5 separate regions of the Homo sapiens genome follow, and all the other regions are linked to region 1. The links are contacts of gene promoters, found by promoter capture Hi-C in blood cells and fetal thymus (Javierre and others, 2016). All regions are on one chromosome and are shown on one strand. The core of a region is centred on a gene start or on the middle of the fragment in contact, and the rest is flanking DNA. Distances in the headings are between cores, read along the strand shown.

The links. Contacts are between HindIII fragments. The CHiCAGO score rates a contact against its expected background, and 5 or more counts as called.
Region 2: a contact is called between a fragment that was not itself captured here and the fragment with the promoter of PERM1 in region 1, in 2 of 17 cell types (endothelial precursors and erythroblasts). The highest score is 8.3, in endothelial precursors.
Region 3: a contact is called between the fragment with the promoter of TNFRSF18 here and the fragment with the promoter of PERM1 in region 1, in 16 of 17 cell types (erythroblasts, activated CD4 T cells, naive CD8 T cells and 13 more). The highest score is 33.1, in erythroblasts.
Region 4: the fragment with the promoter of TTLL10 here is called in contact with the fragment with the promoter of PERM1 in region 1 in 3 of 17 cell types (M1 macrophages, endothelial precursors and erythroblasts); the score reaches 6.3 in M1 macrophages.
Region 5: a fragment that was not itself captured here is called in contact with the fragment with the promoter of PERM1 in region 1 in 2 of 17 cell types (endothelial precursors and erythroblasts); the score reaches 6.4 in endothelial precursors.

The regions. Positions count from the first base shown.
Region 1 is chr1:980,843-983,342 of GRCh38, forward strand. It overlaps PERM1 (PPARGC1 and ESRR induced regulator, muscle 1), which reads right to left and starts at 1,251. Exons shown (of 4, transcript NM_001394713.1): 1 at 1,223-1,251; 2 at 1-331. The coding sequence starts at 187. The HindIII fragment of the contact is 23,754 bases long and covers 1-2,500 here.
Region 2 is chr1:1,221,769-1,224,459 of GRCh38, forward strand. It overlaps SDF4 (stromal cell derived factor 4), which reads right to left. Exons shown (of 7, transcript NM_016176.6): 3 at 2,064-2,200; 4 at 1,476-1,589. Among named protein-coding and RNA genes, the nearest start is that of SDF4, 8.9 kb to the right of the region's middle. The HindIII fragment of the contact is 4,562 bases long and covers 1-2,691 here.
Region 3 is chr1:1,205,206-1,207,896 of GRCh38, forward strand. TNFRSF18 (TNF receptor superfamily member 18) reads right to left here and starts at 1,387. Exons shown (of 5, transcript NM_004195.3): 1 at 1,180-1,387; 2 at 165-287. The coding sequence starts at 1,366. RefSeq lists a silencer at 1-170. The HindIII fragment of the contact is 24,444 bases long and covers 1-2,691 here.
Region 4 is chr1:1,172,529-1,175,219 of GRCh38, forward strand. It overlaps TTLL10 (tubulin tyrosine ligase like 10), which reads left to right and starts at 1,352. Exons shown (of 16, transcript NM_001130045.2): 1 at 1,352-1,398; 2 at 1,757-1,793; 3 at 1,896-1,961. It overlaps TTLL10-AS1 (TTLL10 antisense RNA 1), which reads right to left. Exons shown (of 2, transcript NR_173246.1): 2 at 528-2,691. RefSeq lists a silencer at 1,502-1,591. The HindIII fragment of the contact is 2,617 bases long and covers 1-1,824 here.
Region 5 is chr1:1,126,753-1,129,443 of GRCh38, forward strand. LOC124903819 (a long non-coding RNA gene) reads right to left here and starts at 2,232. Exons shown (of 2, transcript XR_007065349.1): 1 at 1,739-2,232; 2 at 1-680. It overlaps LOC124903820 (a long non-coding RNA gene), which reads left to right and starts at 1,932. Exons shown (of 3, transcript XR_007065351.1): 1 at 1,932-2,006. The HindIII fragment of the contact is 1,585 bases long and covers 528-2,112 here.

The DNA of each region.
Region 1 (2,500 bases), core at 1-2,500:
GCCCAGTTGGGAGAGGTGGGGCCCTGGGGGGACTGCTGCCACTGCTGTCCCCTTGGTCAATGTCACTGGACAAGAGCTCGTCCCCAGAGGCCAGGCCGGCCTGCAGGAGGCCACACTCATCGGCGGTGGCTGAGAACTCGGCCCAGTCCTGGTCACTCAGCTGGACGCTGTACTGGAAATTTTCCATGTGGAGTCAGCAGAGGCACTGGAGGGTAGCAGAATGGGTCCGGTGGGGTCTTCATGGGTTCAGGCCCCGGGCACCACCCTGCACATGCCGCCCCTGCCCCACGAGACCTGGGAGCTCCCACCGCCTCGGGGCTCCATCCATGCCCTGAAAGGAAGAGAACAGCATCTCGAGGGGAGGGCCGCGCTTCCTTCAAACCTAGTGGTGACGATTTCCAAGTTAGAAGATCCCCAGCTCCCATGACCCTAGTTCCCAACGCACCCCAAATGATAGCTGTGTGATGATGCGGTGTTACATTCCTAGAATCAAGGATGATTTTCTACCAGTGAAGCTATAAAACCAGCCGTCCTCAGGTTTGAATGCTCTTTCCCATCACACCTCAGCTGGGGCAGCCTCACCTCCTCCACCTTCTGCCAGAGCTGTCTTTGCACGGCAAAGCACCTTTCAGGGTCCACCCGATGGGACCAGTGCCCTCGGGGGTGGGCAGCCCTGGTCCATCCCAGTGCGCCCCAGCTGGCAGCCGGCCACAGGAAAGGTTTACAGGGCCCAGCAGGTGCCCAGCCCTCGGCGATGACCTTCCGATCGCCTTGGCTGGGCCAGGCTATTCTCTGAGCTCACCAGGTGGTGCTGGCCAGAGCTGGCCCAAGTCAGCACGGAGAGCCTGGGCAGGAGGTGCAGGCTGCGGTGGGTCTCTTGACCCAGCAGCCACCTCGGGCCGTCCTCGAGGTCTGCACCACGATCCAGGCCTGCCCGGCTGCCCGGGGTGCCTTCCTTTGCCCCGTCTCAGAGAAGCAAGGAGACCCTAGCCAGCTGTCGGGTCTACCCCTAGAGGGGGCCGCCCTCGGCCTCAGGTCAGCCCCTCTGGACCCAGGGGTGGGAAGTCACTTTGGTGGGGACGGTCCTGAGACGGAGGCCAGGGCATGGTGGCTTCCCACCCACTGACCTTCGCCCTCCTCTCTGGTCTCTTGAGAAGCCTCTGTGGGGGTTGTTACCATTGGGGCCCCTTGGGTCAGGAGCCAGCAGCTGACCATGTCCTACCTGGGTCCCGGCGGCCGAGCTGGGCGTCTGAGCTGCCCGTCCTGGGTCGGCATGGTGCTAGGCTGTGGCTGCACAGGCTCCTCCCCCTGTGCCAAAAATACCACGTCCCTGTGGCCACATGAGACTCGTGCCAGCCATCAGGGTCCAGGCCACAAATAGATGGCATTTGAGGGCCCTCCAGCTACAGTACATGAGGACGACTTCCTGGCACGGGGCCGGGCTGAGGTGGGGTCAGACACGGGCCGGAGGACGCTGACCAGCAGGCAGCACCGCTCAGTTCCCGTGCCTCCGCCACCCGCGGTGAAACCTCAGACCTGCCCTCCCTGCCGCCCCTGGAATGTTCCTGGCCTGCTTCTGAGATGGCCTCTGTGTCCCGGCCAGGGCTTGTGCCTCCCGGTCCTGACCTCTGGGGCTCATGTGAGGGTGAGTGACGCCAGGGAGCGTCAGCGTCAGAGCCCCCACGCCTGGCTCCGCTCAGCTGCACCCTCCAGGCCGTCCTGACCTTGGGGTTCACGGTGCCCATTCCCAGGCAGGTTCCGAGCCAGAGGGGACAAGAGGACAGGGCGAGGGATCCAACAATAAACATCCGATCAAACAGGCAGGTGAGCTCAGCTCCGATGGCAGCACGTCCTGAGAAAGAAGTAGGGAGAGGCGTGGCTGGAGGGGCCGGAGACCTCTCTAAGGAGGAGGCTTGGACCGAGAAGCTCCTGAGAGTTCAGGGCACGATACTAGGAGACTGGGGTGTGCGCCGTGAGGGGTGGCAGTGAGAGCTGGGCGTGCAGAAAGTGCATGCCTGGTGCCATACGATGCTTTTCCAGAAAGTAGCTGCCACGAGACCACAGGACAAGGCGTCCCGCCACGCAGGGCCGGCCTGACTTGAGCTTTCACAAGTGGAATCGCACCCTGCATCCCTTTCTGCATCTGTGTCCTCGGGCCCACGCCGTGCTCTGGAGACAGCTGCCATGAGGGCCGCGGGCGACTGCCCGGGCGGGTGAGGCTGTCCTGTGTGAACGTGCCACGCGGCTGTGCCGTTTCCCGTGGGTGGCGATGTGGGTCGTTTCCAGTTTGCAGCTACCACACACGGTGCGGCTGTGAATATCTGGGAACATTCCTTTCGGCGAACCTCTCACATTTCCAGGACGCTTGGGGTCAGCGTCAGAAGGTGCCGCCCCGTTCCCCAGGTGGCTGCGTGGCCGTGCTCCAGGCTGGAGTTTCCCAGGAGCTGCGCATCTGCTTCTGTGTGGCGTCTCTCGGCTGCGGCCGCCTCCCTGTGCCTCC
Region 2 (2,691 bases), core at 119-2,618, 240 kb after region 1:
CGGCCAACACGGCAGAATCTATCCGTACAAAAAATACAAAAATTAGCCAGGCGCGGTGATGGTGCCTGTGGTCCCAGCTTCTGAGGTAGGAGGATCGCCTGAGCCCTGGAAGGTACAGCTGCAGGGAGCCGAGACTGCACCACTGCACTGCAGGCTGGGTAGCAGAGTGAGACCGTCTCATGAAAAAAGAAAGAAGAGGTGGTTTGCCTTGAGACTCTGGTGAGGAAATGTGTGTTACTGATAAGTTAAGCAGGCACAAAAAATAAAGGTGTAAGATACACCCAGCCTGCCAGGAGCAGCCCCGTATCACGTGACCAGTCCCGTGGGCGACACGGGCGCCCTGCAGGGCAGCAGAGAACCCACCCCAGGATGCCGGGCAGCGACGGAGCAGGCGACTCTGCACGTTCTCCTCAAAGCCCCAAACCAGACCACGGGCATGACCGGGAAGGGCACACGGAGCCCCAGGGTGGCAGCAACGCCACGGTACCCGCTCAGCTGTGCCTCACAACTGGGCCAGCAGGGGCTTCTGCCTGGACGGCTCTCCCAGACCTGGCCCCGTGCAGGGTGGCCCGGCTCTCCCCTCACCTGGCCTTAGCCCGGGTGCCGGGCCCCACCCGGCCCCACCCTCTTCACGCAGAGGCACCAGCTTGGACCCGCCCAGGGCTGAGGCTGCCCTGCTGGCCAACGGCCACACCCCAGACCCAAGGAAGAGCCTCTCCCTGGGACCTGACCGCTCTCTGGTGACCACCTGACGGCCACACAGATGTCTCCAGCAGACCCAGGCCTCAGGGCCAGGCCCTCAGGCACAGGCTGTGCCCTCTCCCCAGGAAACTCTGCCTCACGTGGCCTTCAGAGTACGGGGCAGGCCCCAACCCAGACTCACAGCCTCAGATTCTCTGCAGGACCTAACTGAGTAACGGCCGTGAAGGTGCCGTGACCAGCAGAGCTGAAAGCTGCCCAGGCACAGCTCACACGCTCCCCACCGGACTCCTGGGCGGCGCCTAGGTCAGCAACGGCTTCACCCACTTCCCTCCTGACAGCCACCACCAACCAGGTTGGGCCATGCTGTTAAGACGAACACGTGTGCACACAGCGGGTGTGAGGGCGCACTCACCTGCATGTACTCACGAGCCTACATGAACAGCTACCTGGATGTACTCACAAGCACACGCACAGCGCACTCGTACACACGACACGCACACACGTACAAGCACATGCACAGTGCACTCGTACACACGACACGCATACACATGTACTCACGAGCACACACACAGCACACGTACACACAACATGCACACACGTACTCACGAGCACGCGCACAGCACACTCGTACACACGGCACGCACACACGTACTCACGAGCACACGCACGGCACACTCATACACGACACACACGGCACACTCATGTACACACAACACACGCGCGCACACACAGGATGCCTGAGACCGGTGGCGGGAGCCTGGCTGAGCACTCACTTTCCTCATCCACTTTGAGTTCCTCGTTGAGCCTGATGGCGTCGGCAACCTCCTTCTCGCTATGGCCTTTACTCGCCAAAAACTTCACCTTATACTCGTCCCAAGACACGTGACCTGGAAGAGCAGATCACACCTGTCAGGGCCTCTGATACTGAGCTGAACTTCCTTCTCAACTGAGATGGGGTCTTGCTCTGCTGCCCAGGCTGGAAGCGGCAGGATGCCAGCGTCTGGAGCCCCAGGGCCCCGGCCAGCACCCCACACCCGTTTCCTCACCTGTGAGGCCAGCCGGCAACGTCTGTGCCTCGGGGCCACCAAGAGGCATAGACACCACCAGATGAAGGCCCCGAAGACATAAGAGGCGCCCTCCATGGGCCACGCCCAGTGCTTGGCACACACACCTCTGTCACCAGGATTCTGGCATCATGAACCCAGCTTCCGTGCACCCCACCACACCTCGGGGTCTCCGGCTGACACTTCCCCACCGCCCGTCCCTCAGACAGGGCCTGTCTGCCCTCCAGGCACCAGGCAAGGCCCATGGCCCTGCCCGCCCCGCCCACCGCCCCACCCACCCCGGCCCAGCCACAGTACCGTCCCCGTCAGGGTCCACGGCGCGGAAGTGTGTCTTGCTCTCCTCCATGGCCTCCTGGAAGTGCTCGGCCGTCTTCTCCATGATCCAGCGCTGCATCTCCTTGGCACTGATCTTCCGGTCAGTGTTCACATCCACCCTGCAAGACAGCAAATGGGCAGGTGGCCGTCAGACTGGGCCCCCAGGACCCCGAACAGCCAGACGGATGCCGCCGGCCCAGGACTCCATGGCTGCGTGAACCTGCCACCAACAGCGACAGGCTCCACCAGGCAACGCGAAAAGCGTCCGGGACGTGGGGCTTGTGGGGTGCCGGGCCACGCCAGAGACACTGGGGAAGGTGGATGCCACGGTCCCCTCCCCGGGGAAACACATGGACCCTCCCCCTCTGTCACACAGAATCACCACCAGACCCCACTCTCCAACCACAGCTTCCAAAAGTCACACTCTTCACGTTTTATTTTATTTTTTGAGATGGAGTCTCACTCTGTCACCCAGGCTGGAGTGTGGTGGCGCAATCTTTGCTCACTGCAACCTCCGCCTCCCGGGTTCAAGCGATTCTACTGCCTCAGCCTCCCGAGTAGCTGGGATTACAGGGGTGCACCACCACGCCTGGCTAATTTTTGTATTTTT
Region 3 (2,691 bases), core at 137-2,636, 220 kb after region 1:
ATGGCCTGTGGTGCCTGAGCATGGCCTGGCCTGCCCGGCCTCACAGGACTCCGGACCCCACACACCACATGTCCTCGCCGGACACCTGTGCCCACGAGCTCTGCCTCGGGCCCTAGTGGAACCCCTGGCCTGTGTGGACTCCCAGAGGCACCTCCAGGACTTACCCTGGGACTGTACCCCCTGGCCTGGGGGACAAGGGTGGTGCCGGCAGGTCGTGCAGCAAGGGTCTCCGCAGTGGAATTCAGGCTGGACACACATGCAGTCCCACTCGGAACAGCACTCCTCGCCTGGGCAGGAGACAGGCCAGCCCCCCAGCAGCTGGGCTGAGGCCCCCTCCTCCCCAGGCCTCCCCTCGGCCCTCCAGGGGAGTGAGGTTGTCCGTTCTCCACCCACAGTTGGCTCCAGGGAGCAGAGGGCTCCTGGCTGGGAGTCTGGACCCTGGGTTTATCCAGCTGTCTCTTTCTCCTGGGGCCATGTGGCCTGGCTACTCCCCCTTTGCGCCCCACAGCTGCCCCTGCCCAGGTGCTAACTCCATATGCAACCAGGAGCTGCCCCTGCAGGACCCAGGGGTGGCCCCCAACAGTGCACAGTCCCCTGGAGGCCCGTCGACACCTCAGAGGCCGCCTGCCTGGTGTCTGGGCGCTGCTGTCCCCACCACCAGCCACACTGGGCCTCCGGACAGAGCCTCCCTTCCCAACCCACAGGCCCTGGAGGAAGAAGCTCTGGGGTGACTTCCCTGCCAGCTTCCTCTCCAGACCAGCCGTGTCAGCTGAACCCTCATCCCCAGGTGCAGGTCAGAGGCAGGCAGCAGGCCAGACGGTGGTGCAGGGGGGCCCTCAACTGGGCAGGAGGGGGCTGGGCGATGGCCAAGGGCTCACGACCCGCCCAGCAGGACCTGGAACAGCCGTCCTCCACCTCCAGACCCCAGACCCCTCTTGAGGGCGCTCCCACCTGGCTCACCCCTGCTCCCGGCCGGGGCCACTGGCTGGAGCTGGCACACCTCCGCCTCCCTCTGGGATCCTGCCTCCCTCCGGAAGGCTCCCGCTGCTGGCGGCTCTGTGCCCACCCTCCTTAGACCTCAGCAACGCCGGTCTGAGCACGGGAAGGGGGGCGCCCACCCATCCCGGCTTCCGCGGGACGCCTTGGCCGGTCCGCGTTAAGTAAACGCGGTTTACTTACCCGGGTAATCGCGGCAGCAGCGCGTCGTGTGAACCCGGCAGCAGCGCGCGTCCGTTCCCGTCCCAAGCAGGAGGCGCCCAGGGCCGCACCCGGGACCCCCGGTGGGGCGCTGACCCAGGCTGAGCGCGCACAGCAGCGCCAGGCCGCACAGGGCCCGAAACGCGCCCATCGCCCCGTGCTGTGCCATGCTCGGGTTTCAAGAGCCCACAGCCAGTTGGACACGCCCCGTCCCCGTCCTCACCCGCCCTGCCCGGAGGTGGCTGGGACCGTTCATGACCTGAGAATCCCGACCCAGGTGAAGTGCGTGTGAGGAGGGGGTGTAGACACTGCGGACACAGCCCGGTCCCCCGCAGGTCGCCGGCAGGGGCGGGGAAACCAGGCTGGCGGGGATCAGAAAGGTTTTCTATGCAAAGTCTGCGGCCACATTGGTGTCCCCAGTGCAGGGGGCGGCGTTTATAGCACCTTGTCCCATGGGGGCCCCTTGGAGGGCGGGGGTCAGCCAATCACTCCTCCATCCCACTGCCTCCGGGTGGTATCTGCGAGTCCCCGAGAGGTCTCCACAAATTCTGGCCACCCCCAGAGAGCCTCAACCATGGAGCCCCGTGCTGGGGAACCCCACAGAATGGGGACAGGGACCCCTCGGCTCAGCACACCCCACCTGGCTGGCTTCAGGTGTGAAACTCACCATGGGCTGCAGGCCTGTGGGCTCCCCTCCCCCTTGCTTGCAGCTCTCCAGGACCCCCCTCAGGCCAACCTGGGAAGTTCCCCGGGGCTTGGGAGGGGCACCAGGAGGAGCTGGTGGGGAGACGAGAGGGTGCTGGCGCCTCCTCGGGACAGTGTCAGCCGCCCCCGCGGGCACCCAGGGCCCGGTCTCTCAGAGCCACCTTCATCCGTCACACCAGACAGATCCAGGTCCCGGAGGGAGTTGAGGAGGAGCCCCTCGCAGAGCTCTTGGGAGACTGTCCTATGTCTTTCTGAGCCTCAGTTTCCCCTGTGGGCACCGAGGGGTTCTGGGACCCTGCCTCCACCAGGAAGCCTCCCTGGATTGCCCAGCCCTGCTTCTGCGCCGTCCAGCACAGGTGGAGACCCCCATGAATGCTGGGGGTGGGGGCTCTCGGGAACGTGAGCGTGGATGTGGTTCAACACCCTTTTGAGACCTGCAGCCACCGCCTCACCCCGTAAGGCGGTTCCTCCTTTTCCAAGGTAAATGACAGGAATTAGCTGTTTGTGACACCCCGGAGTTCTCAAATCCAAGATGTAGGAGCCTGCCTTGGAGAGGCAGCCCTCAGACACTGCAGAGAAGGAAGGGGTCTCTGCAGCTCCAGGCCGCCCCGACGCTCGGAAGGAAAGGGGTGGGGCCAGCTGGGCCTGGGGGCCTTTGAGAGGCCTGGAGATCTTCAGCCCCGAGGCTGGGAGGGGGTCTGGGCCCCTGGATAGAAAGAGGCGCCATCAGTGGCTCACGCCCGTAATCCCAGCATTTTGGGAGGCCGAGGTGGGCCTCGGATCACCTGA
Region 4 (2,691 bases), core at 102-2,601, 190 kb after region 1:
GGATCAGACCGTGCCATGGGTCATGCCAGGAGCCCAGGACTCCCAGACCTCGTATCATTAGGTGTTTTAAAGAGAAGGCGAGGGCAGGCCAGGCGCAGTGACTCACGCCTGTAATCCCAGCACTTTGGGAGGCCGAGGCGGGCGGATCACCTGAGGTCAGGAGTTCAAGAGCAGCCTGGCCAACATGATGAAACCCTCTAAAATTAATAATAAATTAATAATAAAATAATTATAATAATATAGAAAATAATATATAAAATAATAAATATATAAAATATAAAACAAAATAAAAATAAAAAATAAAATTAATATTAAAAATACAAAAATTAGCTGGGCACTGTGGTGGGCACCTGTAATCCCAGCTACTCGGGAGGCTGAGGCAGGAGAATTGCTTGATCCTGGGAGGCGGAGGTTGCAGTGAGCCGAGACCGTACCATTGCACTCCAGCCTGGGCAAAAGAGTGAGACTCCGTATTTTGAAAAAAAAAAAAGAGAGAATGTGAGGGTTAAACAAAGACACACAGAGATGGAGAAAGGGCAGCCTTACATCAACACGGGTACATTGCAAACACCTGCAGAGGTGGGGGACCAGCTGGATGCCAGAGCCCACTGCCGCCTACGGGCTGGGGTGCCTATAGGTATGGGTGGGAGCGGCCCGGGCCACACGGCTTCAGGATGAGGCCGTTTGTTTGGCCCTTGTTCCCGCAGAAGGTAATCGTGATGTTCCTCGGTGTTTTTCCCCGCAGAGTGTTCAAGTCAGGTGTCGGGCAGGCTGTTCCTCACGGCCCAAACCCCTGCGGAATGCTTCACTTTGGCCGAGGTCTGTGACACAGCGAGGGGCTTACAGAAAGGTGCAGTTTGGACCGATAGATGTGAGTCCCCCTCTGGGGGGCACTCACTTTGTGGAGCCCCCGGTTCCTGTTTGCAGAGGGGGGCACAGTGGCACCTCGTCCGCTGTGGAGTGAGAACAGGGACCCGACCACGTGAAGCACAGAGAATGCTCAGGGATCGGCAGCCGTGTATCCAGCCAACATCACCAGGGTGCACGCAGAGCCTGGCCCGGGCCAGGTCCTGGGGTGCTGAGCATGGGTGGGGCCTGAGAGACGGCTCAGGGACCATCCTGGGAGGGCCGGGCGGAGGGGCAGCAACTGGGGCTCAGGCTCAGGCAGTCCCAGCAGTGACTGGGAGGCAGCTGTGCCCATGAAGCTGTGCCCTTCTCCAGCCTCAGCCCTCAGCCCGGCTTCCCGGGCTGGCCCCGCCACTCAGCAGCCCCTCCCCATCCTCCGAAAACCCAAGCTCACCTCTGGGTTCCGGCTGGGTGGGGGTTGCCAGGAGACGGTTGCCAGGTCACCACTGTTGTTTCCTGGCCCAGGCTCCCAGGACCTTGTGGGCTGGGCAGGTAAGAAGCGCCGGCGGCCACCAGCTGGGGTCCAGTGGGCTCGGCCCCGCCCTCCTACGCCCTGCCTGCGGGTCCCCTCGGGAGGCTGCTCAGGAGAGGAGGAGGCTGGGGAGGGGACTGGACAGGGATCGGGTAGGGTGGGGCCAGGCTGAGCCTGCTCTGCGGGTCCCGGACCCCAGCGCCACCGTGCGAGAGGCTCGGGTCCAGGCCAGGCCGGGGAACGGTGTGTGTACCCGGTGGGGTGGGAGGGCTGGGCAGCCCTGGGACGAGCTCCGTGGCCTGGGACCAGGTCTGCCTCCGCAGAGCAAGTCCTGGACGGACGGCTGCTTGAGCCCACAGGTCGTGCGTCCTTTGACAGCGGCCTCCGGCCGGGAGGCACCAGCTCTTCGAACAATGTCAGTACCTTCCTAGGGCCCCACGTGGCCAAGCTTGGATTCTGGGGGGAGAACTCGCAGCAGGACACTAACATGTGGTCGCTTTTTGGATGATTTCTTCAGGTTTAAAAGTCTCTTCTGTTCATCCTACCGGGGTGCCGTCTCCTGCCGGTCTTTTCATCTCACCAGGTAAAACGCTTATTTTACAATTTATTGTAAGGTCGTGCACCAAGTTTCCACGCCGCCTTTACACCGTGTCCCCACCGAGGGGCGTCACAACCGTCCTCCACACCGGGCGTCACCGGCTTCCCAAGTCCCACCGCTATAAAGGACACGTCAGTCAGCATCTCGGAGTGAGACGCTTTCCTTCTGGATTCAGAATCGCGTCCGTCAGAGACTCCAAAGCACATTTGCTAGATCGACAGGCGTGAGGAGCCAGCGGCTCCCGGCGCTTGGGAGGCTGCGTCCCACCTGCATTCAGGCCCCGGGTTCACCACACACACAGCGGGCAGCTGCTTAAGAAACCTTTGATTTCAGTCCGGGGCGGTGGCTCACGCCTGTAATCCCAGCACTTTGGGAGGCCGAGGTGGGCGGATCACGAGGTCAGGAGTTTGAGACCAGCCTGGTCAACATGGAGAAACCCTGTCTCTACTAAAAATACAAAAATTAGCCGGGCATGGCAGCAGGCGCCTGTAATCCCAGCTACTCAGGAGGCTGAGGCGGGAGAATTGTTTGAACCTGGGAGGCGGAGGTTACAGTGAGCCGCGATTGCGCCATTGCACTCCAGCCTGGGCGACAGAGTGAGACTTCGTCTAAAAAAATTAAAAAAAAAAACACCTTTAATTTCAATGACAAGAAATAACAGCTCACAACTTATTTAGTTATTTGTGAACATCATAAGGACATAAAGTTAGAAAAG
Region 5 (2,691 bases), core at 70-2,569, 150 kb after region 1:
AGTGGGGAGTCTCGCTCACCTCGCTGCGGCTTCAGCGGCCCTCCGCGAGCAGCGGGTGTGAGGTTTGCTGGTTTGGGTGTCGGAAAGCCAGCACACCCGAGGTCCGGCTGCTGCACCCACAGGGTTCGCGCTTTGACTTGTTGATGAGTGGTGGGCACGCTGGGCCCTCGCTGCAGTTTTTTTATTATTATTACTTTTATTTTATGTATTTATTTGTTTTTTGAGACGGAGTCTCGCTCTGTCACCCAGGCTGGAGTGCAGTGGTGCAATCTCTGCTCACTGCAAGCTACGCCTCCTGGGTTCAAGCAATTCTTCTGCCTCAGCCTCCTGAGTAGCTGGGACTACAGGCACGTGCCACCACGCCCAGCTAATTTGTTGTATTTTAGTAGAGACGGGGTTTCACCATGTTGGCCAGGCTGGTCTCCATCTCCTGATCTCGTGATCCACCCACATCGGCCTCCCAAAGTGCTGGGATGACAGGTGTGAGCCACTGTGCCCGGCCCGCCGCAGCTTTATTGATCTGAATAAGCTTTTCCGCGTGGATGCTTTATGGTTCTTTATGGTTGTGTTTCTTTAGTGCTTGGTGGATATTTTCCCAAATGCAGCTCCCTGGAGGCGCTTGCCTTGTGAGGAGCAGGAGCCTGAGAGTGCGGAACCGAGCGTGTCCTTCTCGCCGTCCCCTGGAAAAGATGAGCTGTGTCTGGTCCCAGCACATGATGCTCTGTTTTCTGAAACGGCACCCCTGGGTCTCTGGACAAGAGCCCTCCCCATCTTGCCCCTCCAGCACACAGGATGCCCTCCACAGCCACTCCCAGGGGGCTGGACAGAGTGGGGCTGAGCAGCGGCCACGGGAAGCCACCGGCCACCCAGACCCCCGTCCTCCCCGGGTGCTGCCCTGGGCCTAGGTGGCCAGGTCTGGGGGGCCGATACCACGGGCTACGCCCAGCCCCACCCGGCTCCTGTGTGGTGTCAGGGGCTCTGGCATGCCGGCAGGCCAGTGCTCTCGTGAGAGGTGGGTCCCCAAGCCGGCCCCAGCGAAACTCAGTTAAAGGACGAGTCTGCTTTTGGGCCTTATGTTTCCCAACTCCATGGGCAGAGCCACAGGGCCGCTGCCTCCTCCACCGTGGCTGGAGACAAGGCGGCCCCGGGTCTCTGTGAAGCCCTGGCCACGTTCAGCCGCAGGGCCCTGGGTGTCATCGCCACCGCCCCACTGTGGCCCAGGACTGGGGCTTTGGTGGCCCGTGCTGTGGGAGTGGGGGCAGCCAGCAGCCAGGGTCACAGGCCTGAGCCTCGGACAAGCACAGAAGGACCCCCAGGTCTGGTGCTCGTGCTGACTGCCAAGGGCAGCGACTGCAAGACGGGGGTGCAGGTTTCGGGCGTGGCGCGGGCTGCGTCGGGTTCTGGCATTCAAACATATCATGCGGGACCAGGCCTGGGGTTACAGGTGGGGCGGGCGCGCAGGAGAGGGGAGCCGTCCCGGAGCCGCTCTGCACCCAGAGAGGTGTGAGGTGCAGCCTTTCCCCCCTGCCAGGAAGCGCAAACCCTGCTTTAGACCCCAGGGAGTTGGTGCCCCCCCCAGATGCCCGCGGCTTCTCCCACATGGGGAGCTGTCCATCTGTGAGGTCAGACCTGGGCTGCGGGCTTGGCCACCGCTGGATGCCAGCCAGACCTGCCCCTCTGACTTTTCTTGCTCTTTTCTCTCTGCTTTTCCGAGGCCGGCTTTCCGCGAGGCACTTACTTGAAAATGGAGCCCCGGCATTCCTGCATGCACGGACACTAAATCCAAGGCCAGCTCCTCTCTCAGAGCAGAAGTTAAAAATTATTCAATGCCAAATTCCTGGGCTGTGGAGCAGTAGTGGTTGTACCAGGCAAAGGTTCCCGCCGCCTTCCGCCGGCCGGGCAGAGATAAGACCATGAGGGCGCCCGGGGGAGTCCGCGCCTGGCCCACACTGCCCTCCGCCGTCCTGGGACCAGGCCCACACCGCCCTCCGCCCTCCCAGGACCAGGTAGGACTGAGGCTCTGTGGGTCTGACCCACAGCGTCTGGGAGGTTTTGTCTCAAGGGCTGGTGGCTTCTGATGAGCCGAAAGCCCCCGCACCCACGGCCCCACAAAGCTTTTCTTCCGGGACCAGCCCCTCCCCAGTCGCCTGGCCAAGGCCCAGCCCTTAGGGGCCTCCATGGTGTGCTGGGGAGGACCTGGGGGTCCCGCTGGTGAGCCCAGGGCACAGTTGTGGCAGGCGGAGCCCGCGGGGAGGGCAAGGCCTCAGAAGAGGAGGGATTCAGCCGGAGGGCCTTCCCCAGGGCTGGCGGCTTCTGCTATTGGCTGGGGGGTGGTGAGGGTCAGCTGGGGCCTGCAGGGCTGTGCTGGCCAGGTGGGCCGGGCCTGGGGTCCCACAGCCTGAGCGGAGATGCCTGGAGGGGGCCACAGGGTGACCATGTGCCCCCCGGGAGAAGCTGGGGTCTTGGGTCCCCGTGATGATTATGGGTGTCTGGGGGTTCCTGTAGGAAAAGATGGCTGCGAAGGCCCCAGAGTTCCTCGGGGCCTGTGAATGACCCAGCCAGGGGGCCCTCAGAGGGGGAGAGAGACTGAGAAGCCATGATTTACATTTCCTGGCAGAGAGCTCTTGCAGGGAAACCAAATTTATTCCAGTTGACAAGGTGCGTGGGCATTGGGAACAACGTGGGTGGGGG